Linked DNA regions of Homo sapiens: regions 1 and 2 are each linked to region 3. The links are contacts of gene promoters, found by promoter capture Hi-C in blood cells and fetal thymus (Javierre and others, 2016). All regions are on one chromosome and are shown on one strand. Each heading gives the region's core, a stretch centred on a gene start or on the middle of the fragment in contact. The rest is flanking DNA. Distances are from core to core; before and after follow the strand shown. Region 1 overlaps LMBRD2 (LMBR1 domain containing 2). Region 2 overlaps LOC124900962 (a long non-coding RNA gene). Region 3 holds the start of ZFR (zinc finger RNA binding protein).

Region 1 (2,838 bases), core at 48-2,547, 3.7 Mb after region 3:
ATAAGAAAAAAGAACTAAAATTTTACTGAATTCTTAAAGATTTCATACATAGAAATTGCAAGACATTTTGATAGAGAATAATCTGTAAAGTCCTTCCTAATAATAAAATAATTTCAAAAAACGAATAGCTAACATTTAGAATGTGTTCACTAAATTTTAAGCATTGTATTAATACTAGTACCTGCCAAGCTTTATCAAATTAGACCTCACAACCTAGTAAGAAAGGGCTGTTCGTTTCCTTGCTTAACAGAAAAAAAACAGTGCAGAGAGGTTAAGTAACTTGTCCAAGTTAACAGAGCTGGTGAATGGTAAAGCTGGGATTCAAATAGAGGCATCTTTACTACAGAGCCTGGATCATAATTACATGTCTCTTCTCTAATCTAGACATAGTTTCTTAATGCAATTTAAATTGCTTAATGATTTATTTTGTTCAGTCTTCACAGGGAACAAATTAGAAACTTTCTCCCATTTCTTTTAGATATATCAGGACAGAATGCTTAGTCATGTTTAATAAAGAATTTAACGCAAACTTTTTACATTACAGATTATACTACTATTACTTGATTTAAGGGTAATATATGACTGTACTCTACATGGGAAAAGTGGAAAACATAGAGTAAATTAGAATCCGTTTGTTCTTGCCCCAAGCTGCCTATCTTAGAGCATTAAATTACAATGAATTAAAGATCTACTTAGTTCCAAGCACCATTCATTCATTTAGCAAATATTTACTGAACGCCTACTATATGGTGAGCTCTGTTCAAGGGGCTGGAGATAGAAAAATCCAAGCAAAGTCCCTGCCCTTAAAAAGTCTAGTGGGAAGAAACAGGCAATTAAAAAAAATACATTAGGGGGTGATAAGGGTTATGTAAACAGGTAGCTGCCACCACCACAGAGACTATCAGTTCTGGAAATACATTATTCAAGATTAGTTTGGCTACACATAACAGAAAAGTCCAATATAGTACAGACTTATACAATGCAGAATTTATTTCTCGTGTAAGTCTTGAGATAGGTGGTTATGGCAAGTTAGCAGATTATCAGAGGCCCAGGCCCCTTCTATAGTCCACATCCTTAGCAGGTGGCTTTAATCCTTATGTTCCAGGACAGATGCTGGAACTCCAGGAATCCTATCATCATCTAGACAGCAGGATGGAGAAACAAAGAAGGGTGGACCGTCTTCCTTTTAAAGAGATGTAAGAATCGGCTGGGCACGGAGGCTCACGCCTGTAATCTCAGCACTTTAGGAGGCTGAGGTGGGTGGATCATCTGAGGTCGGGAGTTCGAGACCAGCCTGACCAACATGCAGAAACCCCGTCTCCACTAAAAATACAAAATTAGCCAGGCGTGGTGGCGCATGCCTGTAATCCCAGCTACTCAGGAAGGCTGAGGCAGGGGAATTGCTTGAACATGGGAGGTGGAGGTTATGGTGAGCCGAGATTGCGCCATTGCACTCCAGCCTGGGCAATAAGAGTGAAATTTCTTCTCAAAAAATAAAAATAAAATTAATCAGAAAAAATAAGATACATCAGTAGCAATCACAATGCAGTTCTTTATGACCAGATAGCAACCTCTATGTACCTACTAATCTCGTCTTCAATGGACACAATTCCTTACGTTAAAAAGAATCTAATGTACCAATTTAAACTTGCATTTATTATATTAAGGCAATAGTCATGATTAGAAGGAAGGCAAAAAAAAATTATTCCCATATTAGGAAGATGAAGTATGTCTGTTACCGGGGCAAACTATCAAACTGAATTTCAAAACTGACAGGCTCTCCCTGAAGTCCTAGAGAGGATCTTGTGTTCACTAATTCAGATGTTGCAAGTATTCTAGTTCCCAGGTAACTCCTAGTAAAACCAAGACTGAACAAAGATATTTCTCATCTTTAAATTTAGAATCATCTCATCGATTAAACCTTCCTATCTATGAGATCTATATCTGAAGTGGGCTCTCCCAATTATTTTACATCTCAAAACTGTTTATTCTCATTATGGCATCTTAAATATTTTTGTTTATTCTTTCTCCTCCATTAGCTTACAGGCTCTCTCTGTTTTGTTCCCTTTCCTGAAGGAAACTATAATTTTTTGTGTCAAAAATATTTTCTCCTATGAGTTGCAATCTTCAGGGAAAGGACGTAGCTTCAAACAAAGGCAAATGCTTTCTCCTTAGCCAAAGTAACATAAAGGTCACTTTCTGTAAAACATCAGGATATTGCATTTTAAAATGCTTTCCATATAACATTAGTTTGATGAACGGCTTAGCCTAGGATTCTGCACCTAGTTCCAATCAAAACCAAGTTGTGAACAGATCCCTTCTTTACACCAATCTCATCTTTCAAGAACGAGCTAAAGGTTCATGAATTCCTTCCTCAAGAGGCAGTTACTTTTCAAGCTAAGGACCAAGCTTGAAACAAGCATATACCTGCACAAGGGAGGTTTAATTTCACTACAGAGCGAATCATTTTTTCAAGGAAACCAGAGGGTGTGTCATACAGCATCACTGAATATTCTAATATGCGATGAAGCTGTTATGCTTCCTTATGAACTTTATAAATCTTCATTTTTATGAGGCTTAGAATTCATCCCCCTTCCCTCTTCCACTGTTTTCCCGGGGTCACAGTTGTAGTATAGTTTGCCCAATGGATTTCGCATGGTCATTGTACCTGGAATATGTCACGCTCCCTACTCTTACTGCCCCCAAACTCTTCTCAGCAGAGATAGGCTGAAAGCAGCTCGCTTTTAGGCGGCGACGCAAACACACGTAGCCAGCTGAGCGACAGCAAGCAACCAAATGGCTTTGCTGGAGGCCCCCTGCGTGCACGGGTAAAGCTCG
Region 2 (2,700 bases), core at 70-2,569, 3.8 Mb after region 3:
CTTCTGTCCTCGTCTCCTTGTCTCTTCTTCTCCGTCTTTTTTCCTTCTCTCTCTCTCTCTCTGTCACACACACACGCTCCTGAGTTCATTCAGTGTTGTGTAATGGAAGGATCTTGGTTCAAATCTCAGTTTTATTGTTTATTAGCTTTGTGAAACTTGAACTGGTTGTTTAACCTTCCTGAGACTACTTCTGCATTTATAAAATATAATTGCTACCTTGTAAAATTGTGAATATATGCACAGATGCTTAGCACTGTGCCCATTACACAGTAGACACTTGGCAAATATTAGCCCCTTTCATGACCTCAGCTATTACTGGCATCTTTAGCCCAGATCTTTCTCTTGAATTTCCAATCCTTATCTAGTTTCCTTTTAGATAATGTCTCTTAAATCTTACACATGTAACACACATTCGTGGAGATTAAATTAAATTTGAGTGTCACTGTAGGCCAGGCATCCTGCTAGGTGCTACAGATGAAATGATAAAAAGCTTCCATGCCCTTGAGGAGCCTAAAGTCTATGCAGTGATAGAGTTATACACAGAATGCTGAGAAATTTGGAGGAGCAAGTCTCAAGTCAACCTAACAAGAGTTAGAGAAGGCTTTTTGGGAATGTGAAGAGCTAAGCCTTAAGTAATGAATTCAATATTAGCCATTATCAGCAAGAATGAGAAGGAAATTCCACAGAAGAAACACCATGAACAAATGCATAGAAGCAATGAACTAGCAATTTTGAAATTTTAGAGAATTTAGAGAGAGGCAGGCAACATGGGGAAGTGAGGCTAGAGAGGTAGACAAGGGTAAAGACAATGGAAAATGTTAAATCCATGCTTAGGAACCTGCCTTTTATCCTGCATATATTAGGAGGCAACCAAAAGGAGAAAATGACATGATTAGCTTTGCAAAAATTGTGAATTTTTTTTTTTTTGAGATGGAGTTTCGCTCTGTCGTCCATACTGGAGTGCAGTGGTGCAATCTCAGCTCACTGCAACCTCCGCCTCCCGAGTTCAAGGGATTCTCCTGCCTCAGCCTCCAGAGTAGCTGGGACTACAGGTGCGTGCCACCAGGCCTGGCTAATTTTTTGTATTTTTAGTAGAGACAGGGTTTCACCATCTTAGCCAGAATGGTCTCGATCTCCTGACCTCATGATCCACCCACCTCGGCCTCTCAAAGTGCTGGGATTACAGGTGTGAGCCACTGTGCCCAGGCGTGAGCAGGAATTTTTTAGAAGAAACACAAACAGTGAATAAATACTTGAAAAGATAACCTTATTGGAAATTAGAGAAATACAAATAATGTCATTGTGAAATAATATTTTATATCCACTAGATTGGTAGAAATTAAGAAATCTTGGTAACACTCTGTTAGAAAACTTATCCATATCAAGTCTTGATTAGGCTAAACATTAGCTAATCATTTCAATAATTCTTCCTTCCAGTGCCATAGTTTACAAATATCTTTTTTTTTTTTTTTTCCTGAGACAGGGTCTTACTCTATCCCCTAGGCTGGAGTGCAGTGGCACTGCACCGCATGGCTCACACAGCTGCAACCTCCCAGGCTCAGGCAATCCTCCTACCTCAGCCTCCCAGGTAGCTGGGATTACAGATGCGTGTCACCATGCCCTGCTAATTTTTTTTTTTTTTTGAGATGGAGTCTCGCTCTGTCACCCTGGCTGGAGTGCAGTGGCACCATCTCGACTTACTGCAACCTCCGCCTCCCGGTTTAAGCAATTCTCGCCTCAGCCTCTCGAGTAGCTGGGATTACAGGTGCATGCCACAACGCCTGGCTAATTTTTGTATATTTAGTAGAGACGGGGTTTCACCATCCTGGCCAGGCTGGTCCTGAGAACTCCTGACCTCATGATCCGCCTGCCTCGGCCTCCCAAAGTGCTGGGATTACAGGCGTGAGCCACCACGCCCAGCCACCCTGCTAATTTTTAGAAATTTTTGTAGAAATGGGGTGTTGTGCAATGTTCCCCGGGCTGGTCCTGAACTCCTGGGCTCAGGCAATCCGCCGACCTCACCCTCCCAAACAAAACTGCTGGCATTCATGGATTTTTGAGTTTTAAACTCAGACTCCATCTATGGTGAGGCTGGTGTGCTTTTCTAGTAAATGAGTCTAGCCAACCATGTGATAGCCATATCTCAAGCAAGCTTAACTGTTCTCAACATTTTATGGGGAAAATTATATATCACTGTGGTATTCACAACTTGAAGATTTACAGAGGTTTTAAAATATATCCTTCCCAACCCCCAGAACCCTTCCCACCCCCACTTCATGTTCATTCTGACTCTATGAAAGACATATATACCTCTTTTTATGACATTCAAATACTCTAAGACCTGTATAGCAGGGGTCCACCACCCCCGAGCTGTGGACCAGTATCGGTCCCTGGCCTATTAGGAACCGGGCCACACAGCAGGAGAGGAGCGGCAGGCAAGGGGGTGAAGCTTCATCTGTATTTACAGTTGCTTCCCATAATTTGCGTTACTGCCTGAGCTCTGCCTGCTGTCAGATCAGAGGCAGCATTAGATTCTCATAGGATGCAAACACTACTGTAAACTGCTCATGCAAGGCACCTAGGTTGCACGCTCCGTATGAGACTCTAATGCCTGATGATCTGAGGTGGAACAGCTTCATCCCAAAACCACCCCCACCCTACCCACCCCCTAGCCTGTGGAAAAATTGTCTTCCACAAAAC
Region 3 (2,700 bases), core at 13-2,512:
AGCTCAAACAAGGCTGGGCACTCATTTATCAGCACTAGAAACTTCGCACATCTTTTCCAGTCTAAGAACTACACAATTTACAGGTGGTTGGTATGTGAATCTCTCTCCTTGCAGGAAAAACTAAAGGAACCCGATGAACACAGTGACACCCGCAGTTTGTCAGCAGGACTCGCTAGCGATGGAGCGTCTGGGGAAGAAGCCCCACGGCGGAGGAAAAGGTACCCGAGACAACGACACGTTATCTGGGCTCCGGGGGTTGAAGCACCAGGCGACGACGCAGAGAGGCGTCGCACGAGAAGCCAGTGGACCTGCGACACGGCACTCCCCGTGAGGTCCCTTCAGCCACCCTCTCCATCCCCCAAGTGGGAAGAAGATGGGAGGTGGGGGCTGGACGCGCGGAGGCGGGGACTGGGGGGCCTGCCGGGCGGCGGTGGCGGCTCCGCTCGGCGGCCGCAGGAGGCCATTTTAGTTAAGGGGCCGCTGAAGGGCCCTGAGGCCTCCACGTCCCTACACCTCCGCCGTCTCTACCTCCCCCCTACTGGGGGCCGCTCCCCGCCGCGGGCCGGGCCGGGCCGGGCAAGGCGGGGCGGGGCGGGGCGGGGCGGGAGAGGCCGCCGGGCTGGGCCGGGCCAGGCCTGCAGCGGGCCGGGGCTCTGGGATGGCTGGGGACGGGCGCGGGGGCGTCGCATCGACAGGATCCGGACCGAGGGGAGAGCAAGGGGCGAACAGAGAGAAGGCAGGATGCCGTTACCTATATTGGGCCGCAGCCGCCGCCGCCGCCGCCCCGCTGTGGGTGAATCCAAAGTAGTTGCCGGTCGCCATTTTGGCATCTTCCCCCAGCCGGCTGGGCACTGCGGCGGGCACGAAGAGTCGGGTCCCATGGCGGGACAAGAGACACAGAGGAGCCGAGACGCCGAGGGAGGGCAGGGAGAGAAAGAGAGAGGCGCCGTGAGAGCAGCCCTGGCGGGGCCCAGGCCGCGGCCGCGCCGCCTCCCCCTCCCGCCTCGCACTCCCTCACTCACTCGCACGCCCGGGTGGCGGCCGCCGCCTCCTCCCCGGAGCCTGCCCCAACCCCCGCGGCTCCCCGCTGCCCGGGGCCAGGGAGGGGGCCGGGCAGAGGCCTCGCGGGCCACATTAGACTCACCATAGGTGAAAGAAACTACAGGGCATATGGGAATCATGGGCTCGGGCTGCTGCTGCTGAACTCTGAACTCTCACCCGCTGCCTCCCTCCTCTGCCCCGCTCCTCCTCAGCGGAGAACAGACCGCCGCCTCCGACCGCACTGCGCAGGCGCGCCTGTGCTCGGCATCCTGGGAGCTGTAGTCCCCGCCGTCTTCGCGGCTCCCCCGGGCGCGTGCCGGGGCCTCGGCGGTGCGGGCGCGGGGAAGCCCGCGGGGGAAGAGGGGCCTGGCCTTCTCCGAAGTGGTGGTGACGCCGCGCGGCCGCGGGGCGACGGGGGCGTGTGCCAGAAGCGCCTCGCCTGTCCTCTGGGGAGTCGGGGAGCGTGACCAGAGAGAGTGACGTCTGTTCGCCTTTTTCTTTGCTTTCCACTGGCTTCCTTAACTTTTGCATGTGCACTTATTCCCTGCCTCCCTGTCTTCCTCGCTCATTAATTTTTCATTGGAATTCGAGCTGGGCAATTTAGGATTTTTCCTTATTTCCTGCTTTCCCGCAGCTTTTCCCCAACCTCTGAAGTGCGGAGGGAGGGAGAAGGAGAGGAGAGAAATAGAAAAAGGATGGAGAGTGCTTTTCTGTTGGACTAAAAGCACACCCTAAACATCCCTCCCGGACATACCTCTTGCTATACCCTTTCCTCGACCTGCACCCACTCCCTGAGCCATCCGGCGTATATCGGTCACCCAGCAGGGTGTCAGGCAGTGTTGTAGGTGCTGGAGATACGGCAGAGAACAAAACAAAGTCCCTGTTCCCGTGGAGTTTACGTTCTAGGAGCGGGTATATGTCAGCCAACAGCCGGTAGCCAAAACACAGAAATTCTGTCTGATGGTGACTGGAGCTTCAAGCATAAATAAAGCAGAGTAAGGAAAATAAGGGTAAGGGAGGTGCTATTTCATGTAGAGTGTGGTTAGGGAGACCACTTGAAGGAAGGAAGGACAGGCCTGGGAGATGCCTGCAGGAAGAGCAGCAAGTGGAAGGGTCCAGATGAAGGAATGAATGTTCAAGAGCAAGAAGATCAGTCTGGCTGGAGTCAAGTGAGAGGGAGACCAGATCACGTGCCAGATCTTTAGTGGTAAGGACAGAACAGTACTTGCCCCCATGTAAGCATTTCCTCTTTCCCTCTGTTTCCTCGCTTTCTTCCCTTTAGTTTCTCAGTTCGTTTTCAACCATTCTCTTTCCTCTTCCAGTCCCTCTTCTGATCGTCTAGTTTCTCTGGCCTTATGTTTCGTGTCTTCCATCAAGTACATATGTACTGCCTGCATTTCACCTCTTCCTTACCTTCTCCATGCCCATCCCCCAGACTCCCTGCTCCTCATCTCTCCTCATTGTTGGATATGAACATTAAAAGGAAATGCTGGCCGGGCGCGGTGGCTCACGCCTGTAATCCCAACACTTTGGGCGGCCGAGGCGGGTGGATCACGAGGTGAGGTCAGTGGCCAACATGGTGAAACCCCGTCTCAAAAAAAAAGAAAAAAAAAAAAAGCCGGGCGTGGTGGCGGGCGCCTGTAGTCCCAGCCACTCAGA

The links. Contacts are between HindIII fragments. The CHiCAGO score rates a contact against its expected background, and 5 or more counts as called.
Region 1: a fragment that was not itself captured here is called in contact with the fragment with the promoter of ZFR in region 3 in 3 of 17 cell types (total CD4 T cells, total CD8 T cells and naive CD8 T cells); the score reaches 6.3 in total CD4 T cells.
Region 2: a contact is called between a fragment that was not itself captured here and the fragment with the promoter of ZFR in region 3, in 2 of 17 cell types (total CD4 T cells and naive CD4 T cells). The highest score is 6.7, in total CD4 T cells.

What each region holds. Positions count from the first base shown.
Region 1 is chr5:36,148,420-36,151,257 of GRCh38, forward strand. The region is part of intron 1 of LMBRD2 (LMBR1 domain containing 2); the gene reads right to left. Among named protein-coding and RNA genes, the nearest start is that of MIR580, 1.9 kb to the left of the region's middle. RefSeq lists a silencer at 2,739-2,798 and an enhancer at 2,752-2,838. The HindIII fragment of the contact is 2,220 bases long and covers 188-2,407 here.
Region 2 is chr5:36,244,111-36,246,810 of GRCh38, forward strand. The region is part of intron 1 of LOC124900962 (a long non-coding RNA gene); the gene reads left to right. Among named protein-coding and RNA genes, the nearest start is that of NADK2, 3.5 kb to the left of the region's middle. The HindIII fragment of the contact is 1,662 bases long and covers 489-2,150 here.
Region 3 is chr5:32,443,478-32,446,177 of GRCh38, forward strand. ZFR (zinc finger RNA binding protein) reads right to left here and starts at 1,263. Exons shown (of 20, transcript NM_016107.5): 1 at 1,145-1,263; 2 at 752-851. The coding sequence starts at 1,181. RefSeq lists silencers at 306-645, 876-1,565 and an enhancer at 357-914. The HindIII fragment of the contact is 7,512 bases long and covers 1-2,700 here.